Regions from separate parts of the Homo sapiens genome. Here all the other regions are linked to region 3. Evidence: promoter capture Hi-C in human tissues and cell types (Jung and others, 2019). All regions are on one chromosome and are shown on one strand. Each heading gives the region's core, a stretch centred on a gene start or on the middle of the fragment in contact. The rest is flanking DNA. Distances are from core to core; before and after follow the strand shown. Region 1 has its middle 12 kb from the start of IL4. Region 2 overlaps HSPA4 (heat shock protein family A (Hsp70) member 4). Region 3 holds the start of LEAP2 (liver enriched antimicrobial peptide 2). Region 4 overlaps RAD50 (RAD50 double strand break repair protein).

The links. Contacts are between HindIII fragments. The study calls those that stand out against the background at their distance.
Region 1: a fragment that was not itself captured here is called in contact with the fragment with the promoter of LEAP2 in region 3 in 1 of the 25 tissues and cell types used here (bladder).
Region 2: a contact is called between a fragment that was not itself captured here and the fragment with the promoter of LEAP2 in region 3, in 2 of the 25 tissues and cell types used here (heart left ventricle and pancreas).
Region 4: a fragment that was not itself captured here is called in contact with the fragment with the promoter of LEAP2 in region 3 in 1 of the 25 tissues and cell types used here (adrenal gland).

The regions. Positions count from the first base shown.
Region 1 is chr5:132,684,471-132,687,170 of GRCh38, reverse strand. No RefSeq gene overlaps it. Among named protein-coding and RNA genes, the nearest start is that of IL4, 12 kb to the right of the region's middle. The HindIII fragment of the contact is 4,749 bases long and covers 1-2,700 here.
Region 2 is chr5:133,097,775-133,100,474 of GRCh38, reverse strand. It overlaps HSPA4 (heat shock protein family A (Hsp70) member 4), which reads right to left. Exons shown (of 19, transcript NM_002154.4): 16 at 823-930. Among named protein-coding and RNA genes, the nearest start is that of HSPA4, 47 kb to the right of the region's middle. The HindIII fragment of the contact is 5,986 bases long and covers 1-2,700 here.
Region 3 is chr5:132,872,374-132,875,073 of GRCh38, reverse strand. LEAP2 (liver enriched antimicrobial peptide 2) reads right to left here and starts at 1,406. Exons shown (of 3, transcript NM_052971.3): 1 at 1,323-1,406; 2 at 985-1,124; 3 at 28-664. The coding sequence starts at 1,379. The coding sequence ends at 628. The HindIII fragment of the contact is 2,304 bases long and covers 1,401-2,700 here.
Region 4 is chr5:132,637,351-132,640,050 of GRCh38, reverse strand. RAD50 (RAD50 double strand break repair protein) reads right to left here. Exons shown (of 25, transcript NM_005732.4): 23 at 1,828-1,970. It overlaps TH2LCRR (T helper type 2 locus control region associated RNA), which reads left to right. Exons shown (of 3, transcript NR_132125.1): 3 at 1,786-2,003. Among named protein-coding and RNA genes, the nearest start is that of TH2LCRR, 17 kb to the left of the region's middle. RefSeq lists an enhancer at 353-432. The HindIII fragment of the contact is 4,174 bases long and covers 1-2,700 here.

The DNA.
Region 1 (2,700 bases), core at 50-2,549, 190 kb after region 3:
GGAGGTGGAAAGGGTCATCAGCCAGAGGAGTAACCGCCCTCTCTTCTCAGCTGTTTTGCTTGCACTCGTGATTGGTATAAACTGAGGGAGCAAATGTGTGTCCTCTTATTCACGTTGCCTAGTAAGTACCCAGGTGTGCAGTGAGCATACAAAACATCAAAACATATTTTCGTTTGGCTGAACTCTGGCTAATCAGAAACTAGAAGGAACAGACAGCTTAGAGACTTAAAGTTGGACTAGGAAGAAGTTGACAGGATGGATTAGAAGATAGCCACTTTAGGCTGGGTACAGTGGCTCATGCCTGTAATCCCAGCACTTTGGGAGGCCGAGGTGGGTGGATCACCTGAGGTCAGGAGTTCAAGACCAGCCTGGCCAACACAGTGAAACCCCATCTCTACTAATAATACAAAAAAATGAGGCAGGTGTGGTGGCAGGCACCTGTAATCCCAGCTACTCAGGAGGCTGAGGCAGGAGAATTGCTTGAAGCTGGGAGGTGGAGGTTGCAGTGAGCCAAGATCTCGCCACTGCACTCTAGCCTGGGTGACAGAGCGAGACTCTGTCTCATTAAAAAAAAAAAAAAAAAAAAAAAAACAACAACACTTTAGAGAGCCAAGGAGAGGGTGTCTGGGTACTTAGGGCAAAAGCCCAGTTGAGGAAACGCTGGGCGTGACAGCTAACTGGGGATTTTAGTACTCCACCTGGGAATGGAACTCAAACTTGAGCTAATAAATTGAATCTAGAAATCAGCCCCAAGGCTAGAGAAAGTGCCTGCCTTGCTCCTAGTGGAAGCTACTAGAAACTGAGAAGCCAACCCTGTGTGTCATAGGCCAGGCTGTGCCTAGCTCCATAAGGAAGCTCTGCGTTGTGCTTAGCCTTGAGATTCCCATCCTTAGATAATGTGGGCACCCTGAGATTATGTGAAGGAGGGCAGAGAAAAACCAAGAGCAGGGTCAATGACATGGACAGCAACAAGCAGAGCCCCCTTGGCATTTGTAACAGAGGTGACCCTTTGTAACTGTAGCCCAACAATGTTTCCATAAAAGACAGCCATAGATTTGAGCCAAATCATTTTTTGATTCATTTTTCCAATAAATAATTATTACCCCCTAGATGCCAGTTACAGATAGTTTATTCATTGGCAAAAGGTGGAGGTATGATAGCCAGGAGGGAAAGGTTCAGACTTACTGTCAATGTCATATTCCACACACAGACAAAAGGCATGTCCCATGAAGCAGGCACGGGCTGTGGCTGAGTTTGCTACATAAATGTGCTCAGATGACAAGCATCTTAACTTTCACTTAATCCTGAAGGTTTTTCACCCTCTGTTTTTTGTTTTGTTTTTTTTTTTTTGAGACAGAATCTCGCTCTGCCGCCCAGGCTGGAGTGCAATGGCACGATCTTGGCTCACTGCAACCTCCACCTCCCAGGTTCAAGCGATTCTCCTGCCTCAGCCTCCCGAGTAGCTGGATTACACGTGTGCACTAGCATCCCCAGCTAATTTTTGTATTTTTAGTAGAGACGGGGTTTCGCCATGTTGGCCAGGCTGGTCTTGAACTCCTGACCTAAGGTGATCCGCCTGCTTCAGTCTCCCAAAGTGCTGGAATTACAGGCGTGAGCCACTGCGCCCGGCCTCACCCACTGTTTTTATAAGTATCCCCCTCAATTTGTGTTCTCATTGTCTTCGGAAATTCAAAGGCTTGTTGTTGTTGCATGTTTGCATCCAGAGTCCAGGACTGCCTGACTGGGAGTAAATGGAAATGTGAGTTGCATCTTGCCTAATGAAGCTTATGTGATGACAGACCTGCTTAGAGTCTGCATGTGTCCTTTCCATGGCGTGCTCTAAATCTTCCTACTTTCCTTTACCATCCTGTCCTCATATACAAACTGTAACCCACTACCCATATCCTGTGGCAGACTACAACTCACATTAGCCATTGAATGCAAATGAGCCTCAATCAAAGAAGAAAGGAAATTAAAATTTACAGTATGTGTCTTCTCCGGTTGGCCTGAGGAGCCTCCATGACTCTCATAGCTATTTATTGCCCTTGGCATGCTGGTATTTTATGTGGGCAGGGTGAAACTGGCTGTGGTCAGGGTGAGACTTGAAGCTTTTGATTTGTTCCCTTATTTTGAAAGGGTTAAAAAGATGTTACATGTTTTGGTGTAATTTTAGTACTCATATTAATTTTGTCACATCTCTGTAAGCGAGGATGAAAAGAGAGTGCTCAATCACTGTTACTAGATCCATATTCTTACAGAGAACAAGTCTTCAAAAGGCAAGTTTTGATGACACTTGGGTTTTTTTCCCCCTTTTAATTTCTTTTAAATAACAGCTTTATTGAGATAGAATTCACCTACTACGAAATTTATCCTTTTAAAGTGTACGAGTCAGTGCTTTTTAGTATGTTCATAGAATTGTGCAACCATCACCATTATCTAATATCCGAACATTTTCATCACCCCTGAAAGAAACCCCACCCCCCATTATCAGTCACTCCCCATGCCTCCACACCCGCCTCCCACCCACAGCCTGTAGCAATCAATATTCTATTTTTGCCTCTGTGGATTCTCCTGTTCTGAATAATTCATATCAGTAGAATCATACCATATGTGGTCTTCTGCATTTGGCTTCTTTCCCGTCACATACTGTTTCCAAGGTTCATCCGGGTTGTGGCCTCTGTCAGTACTTCATTTCTTTTT
Region 2 (2,700 bases), core at 164-2,663, 230 kb before region 3:
CAGTGAGCCAAGGTCACGCCACTGCACTCCAGCCTCGGCAACAGAGCAAGGCTCCGTCTCAAAAAAAAAAAAGATCAGATGCTTTAAATACAAAACCAGATGCTTTGGCTAGGCATGGTGGCTCACACCTATAATTCCAGCACTTCGGGAGGCCAAGGCATGCAGATCACTTGAAGTCAGGAGTTCAAGACCAGCCTGGCCAACATGGTGAAAAGAAACCCTGTCTCTACTAAAAATACAAAAATTAGCTAGGCATGGTGGCACGCGCCTGTAATCCCAGCTACTCTGGAGGCTGAAGCATGAGAATCCCCTGAACCCAGGAGGCAGAGGTTGCAGTGAGCCGAGACTGCGCCACTGCACTCCAGCCTGGGCAACAGAGCAAGACTGTGTATTTAAAAATAAATAAATGAATAAATAAATAATAAATAAATAAAATAATAAAAAATAAACCACCAGATGCTTTGCTTTTATCAAGAATCCAAACTACATAAACAGAAACAGCCCTGCTCCAGCTGCATTCCCTGTGCCTTTAGGGCAGGTACTAAGTCTTGCAGTCATTTTATCTCTTGACACCAAGAATGCACTAAACATCCAGTTCAGTGAAACATTACAAACCTAAAGTCAATTTTCAGAAAAATCATTTTGTTATTACAAGGTTCTAAAAGTGAGAATGATAATGAGCCTAAGTCATAAAGGGTTTATTTTAGTTCATCAAACATCATTTTCAGTCTGTCTTTACTTGAGAATTCCTCCCAAATTTGAGCTCCTCAGAGGAAGCTTCAACAAGGGTTCTGGATACCTCTGCTCTCAAGAGTCACTTACTTTTAATTCAGCCAACTTATCAACATAAACTTGCTTTGGCTGGTCTTCTCCATCCTCATACAACCAATTTTCAGTATCTTCCAGTTTCAAAGTAAAACTGTTACGATCCTAATGATAAAGAAAATATTATAATTAGGTCAATCAAAAATTACATCCCCAATACAGTCAGAGGCATAGAATATAATGATGTATCTGAGATTTGCTTTAAAATACAGAGGGCAGCCAGGTGCAGTGGCTCACACTTGTAATCCCAGCACTTTGGGAGGCTGAGGCAGGTGGATCACCTGAGGTCAGGAGTTCAAGAACAGCCTGGCCAACATGGTGAAACCCCGTCTCCACTAAAAATACAAAAAAAATTACCCGGGCGTGATGGTAGACACCTGTAATCCCAGCTACTACAAAGGCTGAAGCAGGGGAACTGCCTGAACTCAGGAGGCGGAGGTTGCAGTGACCCAAGATGGGGCCACTGCACTCCAGCCTGGGCAACAGAGCAAGGCTCCATTTCAAAAAAAATAAGATAAGATACAGGGGGAGTAAGGAGATGGGAGATACAGAAAACAAGGATGGCAAATGTTGGTCTACTTGATAGGTATGGGGAGTTTTATTATATTATTCTCCCTGCCGTGGAGGGCTTTCGGTAAGTTAAAAAATTTCAGAATAAAAACTGCATGTAAAAGCAAGTGCATCTGGGAACACTGGCTCACGCCTGTAATCCCAGCACTTTGGGAGGCTGAGGCGGGTGGATCACCTGAGGTAAGGACAGACTAGCCTGGCCAACATGGTGAAACCCCGTCTCTACTAAAAATACAAAAATTAGCCAGGCATGGTGGAGCATGCCTGTAGTCCCAGCTACTAGGGAGGCTGAGGCAGAAGAATCACTTGAACCAGGGAGGTGGAGGTTGCAGTGAGCCAAGATCGTACCACTGTACTCCAGCCTGGGCAATAAGACCGAAACTCCATCTCAAAAAAATAAAAAAATAAAAACAACTAAGTACCCATCAACCAATGAGTAAATAAAGAAAACATGGTAGACCGGGCACGGTGACTCACGCCTGTAATCCCAGCACTCTGGGAGGCCGAGGCAGGTGGATCACGAAGTCAGGAGATCGAGACCATCCTGGCTAACACGGTGAAACCCCATCTCTACTAAAAAAAAATACAAAAAAAAAAAAAATTAGCCAGGCGTGGTAGCAGGCACCTGTACTCCCGGCTACTCCGGAGGCTGAGGCAGGAGAATGGCGTGAACCTGAGAGGCAGAGCCTGCAGTGAGCCAAGATCGCGTCACCGCACTCCAGCCTGGGCGACAGAGCGAGACTCCGTCTCAAAAATAAATAAATAAAAAATAAAAATAAAATAAAGAAAACGTGGTATATACACACCATGGAATACTACTGAGTCATAAAAAGTAGCAAAATAATGTCTTTTGCAGCAACTGGATGGAGCTGGAGGCCATTATTCTAAGTGAAGTAACTTGGGAATGGAAAACCAAATACTGCTATGTTTTCCCTTATAAGTAGGAGCTAAGCTATGGAGCATATGCAGAAATATAATGGACTTTGGAGACTCAAAAGCGGGAGGACAGAAGTGGGGTGTGGGATAAAAAAACTACCATCTTAGGTATGATGTACAGGACGTGGATGACAGGTGCACCAAAATCTCAGAATTCACCACTATATAATTCATCCATGTAACCAAAAACCACCTGTACCCAAGAGCTATTCAAATTAAAAAAAAAAAAAAACTAAAAATTCTGAGTTACAATAAACAGGAAAAAGTGAGCTTTAACAATTTAAAGAAAAATACAGGCTGGGCGCAGTGGCTCACACCTGTAATCCCAGCACTTCGGGAGGCCAAGGCGGGCGGATCACCTGAGGTCAG
Region 3 (2,700 bases), core at 157-2,656:
GATGGCAAGTGCTTGACCATCTTTTTTTTTTTTTTTTTTTTTTGAGACAGAGTCTCTCTATGTCACCCAGGCTGGGGTGCAGTGGCATGATCTTGGCTCACTGCAACCTCCACCTCCCAGGTTCAAGTGATTCTCCTGCCTCAGCCTCCCAAGCTTGACCACCTTTGACACCTCCCTGAAGAGTATGGAGTGAAGGGATCCAGGGCCACAGCTTAGGAACTTGCTGAAGTTGATTACGTAGCTATTGATTATGTAGCTCTCACTACACTTTCCAGATTGAGAAGTTAACACATTATTGGGCAATGCTGTTTTTTTCTTTAGTATACAAAATGAATCCTTCTTTCCCTCAAAAGCTTGAATTCCAGACTGCTAAAATTTCAATTTGAGACATTTAATAGTATCCATAGAAAAATAAACTCTAAATTGACAAGTTTAGTTATGCTTATCCATATATCAACATTCTAAGAAGAAATGGAGACCAATTTAAAGCGTACATCTGCCTTTAAATATTAAAAATACAAGATTGCTTCACTTGGGTGTCTCCAGCCAAAATGCAGTTAATCAATATTCCATAGAACGGAGCATTGTCGGAGGTGACTGCTGTCCTTTCTTTCCCTGGTATGTACATCATTCCTGGGCCACACTTAAGGAACAGCGTCTTTTTCTAGGGGAAAAGAAAGGGTAGTTTTTTAAGACTGGGTCTAGGAATGACCAGGGCCACCTATGCTGCATTTCCTTCCTCTTTGCTTGATCTGTCCAGTCTCAGGAAAGACTGAAGAATGGAAAGGCACCACTCTTTCATGGTACCCACATAGAGCTGTTCTTGGCTCCTAACTCCTAAGGGATTTTCCATGGAGCTCCCAGTCTCAGTCTAGAACTCCTCCATCCCAGCTTTATTCTTAGGTTCATGTGTCCCCTTGTCACTCCTCTGCCCAGCTTCCCAGGGCTCTCTGGCCCAACCCTGCTCCCAGGTTCAGGGAGTACCTGCATAGCCTTGTGATACACTCAGAATCATCCCGGCAGGAGGCTCCAATAGGCCTGAGGGAAACCCCTCTCCAAAATGGGGTCATTCTCCGTGGCCTTCTCTTTGCCGAACTCACTTCTGGTATTGGGGAGCCATCTATCTGTAAGGGCAAAGACATTCAGATATGAAAGTGTTGACACCCTGCTGCACACCTTGGAAGAGTGATCATTCCATTCCGCAGATGCTGTAGACTCAGAACAGAGGAACCATTCCTCAGGACTGAATCTAGCTTTCAAGTTCCACCACCACTATCATCTCCACACTCCACACACACACATAAGTATCCTTCCCTCCTTACCTGGCCCAACAGCAACAGGAAGATCATGAGGACTGCACAAAGTTTGAGGTGCCACATCTTGACAGGGGGAGGATGTTGGAGCCTGAAAGCCAGGGACAGTTCCTACTTCCTTTTATAGACTGACATCAACTCTTGCATTGTTACTGGGTGAGATGGGGGCAAAGTTTATATTTGTAATCAGAATCAATTTAATAAGTTAATGTCTACCGGAGGAATGTGCTCAAGGGCCACCTTTCAGGCACGTTGTATTTACTGATCCCTCATCTGGACTTTGAGTGATTGTGTTGCTGGCATGGACCCTTTCGCCCATTTTACCAAAAGTCAGCACTGCCCTTCCTTCCCTTTGAAAGCCACGTGAAACCATTGAGGGAGGTCAGGCAACTAGCCACATTTCTATTCCAAAATAGCTCAGTGAGATCACTCCCATAGAATTCCAATAATGAAGTCTTCAGAAATAATGTTGGCCCCTTTCAGCCTTGTCTAGGAAAGAAGCACTGATCTATTGTGTACAGCCAATTGGATAAGGCCCTTATCTCCTTTCTGTGGGAGGATGCTTCAGCAAGGCCTACAGTTCCCCAGATCGTCCACTTGCTTAGATGGACTGTCACCCTAATCTGCACCTCTTTATCTCACTAGTAAAATGAAGACCCAGCTGTGGAAAGTTCAAAGTCTGGCCTCCTGCCCTCTCAGGGGAATGGCTGGATGTGAGACTTATTTGGACCACAGGTGAATTGAATAATTATAGGTTTCTTTTTGTTTTTAAGCACATGTAGATGAGGAGGTAACAAGATCTCCTAAATCAGAGGGAGAGCTTGTGTAGTGACTGTATTAAAAGCCTTGAATTATGGGCTTTCTTCCCAGTAGTTGAGTGGGGCCTTTCCTTCCGGCAGCTTCAGGGCAACAGGCATAGGGATGAGATACCTCCAAAGCCCAAAGCATCCATCAGTTTAAGTAGGAACTGCTGCAGATTTCTAGACCAAGGGAGGACATGTATCTAAACGATGGGTAGTTATGGGTACTCGTGAAATGACATGGGCATTTTAAGTTTGAGGGGAAAGCTGTGAATTCTGAGTAAGGAGACTGATTGGACTTTAGATCTTCCTATGACCTGGGAGGATAATAAGCTTAAGACAAAGACAACAAATTCTTTCTGCCGGGCATCATACTGAAAACTTGGCTAATACCTCTTCCCAAGGGCCGTCTCATCTTCACAGGTTGGGTATTTGGATAAGAACCTGCTTGTTCCTTTACTCCAGGAAAACGTGGAGGAGATGCACAACAGCTGAAGGTAGAAAAGGATGGCCACTGACCCTGCTGCCAGTCAGACAGAGGGAGCTTCTTGCCAAGGGAGAAGCAGATGGTTTGATGGACCTCAGAG
Region 4 (2,700 bases), core at 201-2,700, 240 kb after region 3:
ACCCTCAGACCCACTGAAACCATCTGAGGATACAAGACACACAGAATTGAGAGAGTAGGGCTATTCTAGGAAGTATAAACTACTCTGGTGTGAGCTGTAAGTCCCCTTTCCCCCTCAGTTTGTGGGTGGGTGCGCACACATCAGTGAGTTGGTAATTTTAGAATAGTTTATGTCTTTTCTTTAATGCCTAGGCAAGCCAGAAGACAGGGCCACAGCTTGGCCCTGTGAGGGACAGGCATTTCCTTCCTGTCTTTGAATCCAAACTGCTGTCAACTCTACCACCACCCACTCACATGCAGAGCCCCTGGCTGGCTGCTAGAGCCTCAGCAAAAGCCAGTGTTAGGTAGGCTGGAGGCCCACCTCCATTATTTGTTCTCTCCCCTCACACCAAGGAGACAATTATTGCTAATTAATTTTCATAACTCAGAATAGCTACAAAAAATCTTTTTCCTCAAGATATTTTTGAAAGTATTTTTAATTCAAAGAGACCATGTTTCAAACTCTGTATTTTCTCATTTATAATTACCACTAAAAATCATCAAAGCACGTAGGGATACTGATTACAGATCACAAGTTTGTCATTTTTGTAGACTATGATTTAGACAGTAATCTGCAGATGCTTTAAATTGGGATCAGCTGTCTAGGCTGACAACATAATACATATATGCATGGCATGTTCTTTTTTTTTTTTTTTTTTGAGACGGAGTTTCGCTCTTGTTGCCTGGGCTGGAGTGCAATGGCACGATCTCGGCTCACTGCAACCTCCGCCTCCCAGGTTCAAGCAATTCTCCTGCCTCAGCCTCCCGAGTAGCTGGGATTACAGGCACATGCTACCATGCCCAGCTAATTTTTGTATTTTTAATAGAGACGGAGTTTCACCATGTTAGGCTGGTCTCGAACTCCTGACCTCAGGTGATCTGCCCGCCTCGGCCTTCCAAAGTGCTGCGATTACAGGTGTGAGACACCATGCCCAGCTGCATGGCATGTTCTTTAAGCAAAAACTGCAAACTATGAAAATGAGTTAGATAATGTAAGCATCTATTTCTATGATTTTAGAATTTTATTTAAAAAAAGTCAAGGGCCTAGAGGTGTTATCAAGTGTAATCTTCTGCCTTGATCTGAAAGCAGAAAGCTCAAGTATCTGTGACATCTTTGTTACAAACCTGTGCACAGTGAAGGATCCAGCCTTGTTCCCCAAGGATGCCATATTCCTGATTCTTTAAAACTTCATTCCTCTTCCTGATTTCCAATGTAGGCTGTCCTCACAGAGCCTTACCTGAAGCCAGATGGCCTGACCCAGCAGCTAAGTCTTTGTGTATGCTGTGGTAGGGACTTAGTTCTATGAGGGGCTACTTTCTTAATGAGACTCCTTACTATACTGGAATATTCATTCTAGCTTAAGCTAGAATCTGGTTTGCAATACTATTATGTCATTGATTCTGAAACATCTTATGGTTATAATTGCATTTTTTCATTCCTGCTGGCACATAAAATAGTGGTATGTCTTATAACTGATGAGACAGTGACCTTATTCTGATAAGGAGTGCCATGAAAACTCTAACGGGTCTTCAGCTTCTTGTTCTACATTTAGCCTATCCTGTGAGAATGCTTCAGGCCCTTCTTTTAAAAGTCTACATAATGTTGCAGGAAATGTTGGTTAGCTTCAGGAGAGTGTAATAATAGTAGCTGAGCCTGATTCATTTTATATAGCAGCAAAGAGCTTCCCACCATTCAGGTGTAGCCTTGGGTGCTTCCACTGCACTGATGTTTGTTTCTCTCTTTCAGTTACTTGGGTGAGTTGGCTCCCCAGGCTTTTGAGATACCTGCCTTTTGTCCAGCACTGCATCGTCCTCGCATATCCAAGGCTGTGTCTCCCTTCAGCATCACCACTCGGTAGTTATAATTCCGCCTTTTATCAGAAGCTGATACATTTTCATCGGCATCAGACCGTATTTCTATGTATTCAATATCTGACACAGGAAGAAGAATATTTTAGAGGAACCTATGCTCTGTAGCCTTTTGTCATTTACAAACATATCAAGTAAGCCTAGGAACAACAGATGAGGCTGACATTACCAGAGGAAAACAATGGCTGGTGTGGAAACTCTTTCTCTGGCTGGGAGGATTCAAGAGCCTGGTGGTCTGGCCAGAAGCAACCCAGATGCCCCAGTTCCTCAGCCTCAACTCTTTCTTAGTTTCCCTGTTAAGAGTTTCCTCCAGGCCAGGCGCGGTGGCTCACGCCTGTAAACCCAACACTGGGAGGCCAAGGTGGGCAGATCACCTGAGGGCAGGAGTTTGAGACCAGCCTGGCCAACATGGTGAAACCCCATCTCTACTAAGAATACAAAAAATTAGCCAGGTGTGGGAGCGCGCACCTGTAATTCCAGCTACTACTCGGGAGGCTGAGGTGGGAGAATCACCTGAACCCAGGAGGTGGAGGTTGCAGTGAGCCAAGATTGCACCACTGCGCTCCAGCCCGGGTGACAGAGAAGTGCGAGACTCCATCTGGAAAAAAAAAAAAGAAAAAGAAAAAAAAAAGAGTTTCCTCTGGATGGTTTTTCTTATTGCATTTTGGCTTATCCCTATCTACACTATGACAGAACCTATTATGTCATCAGCTAAATATAATGCCTACTGCAGTCAAATATGTAAGTCCTGTTAGGCTCTGGAACAGAAAACTTTACATTTTCTTGCTACAAG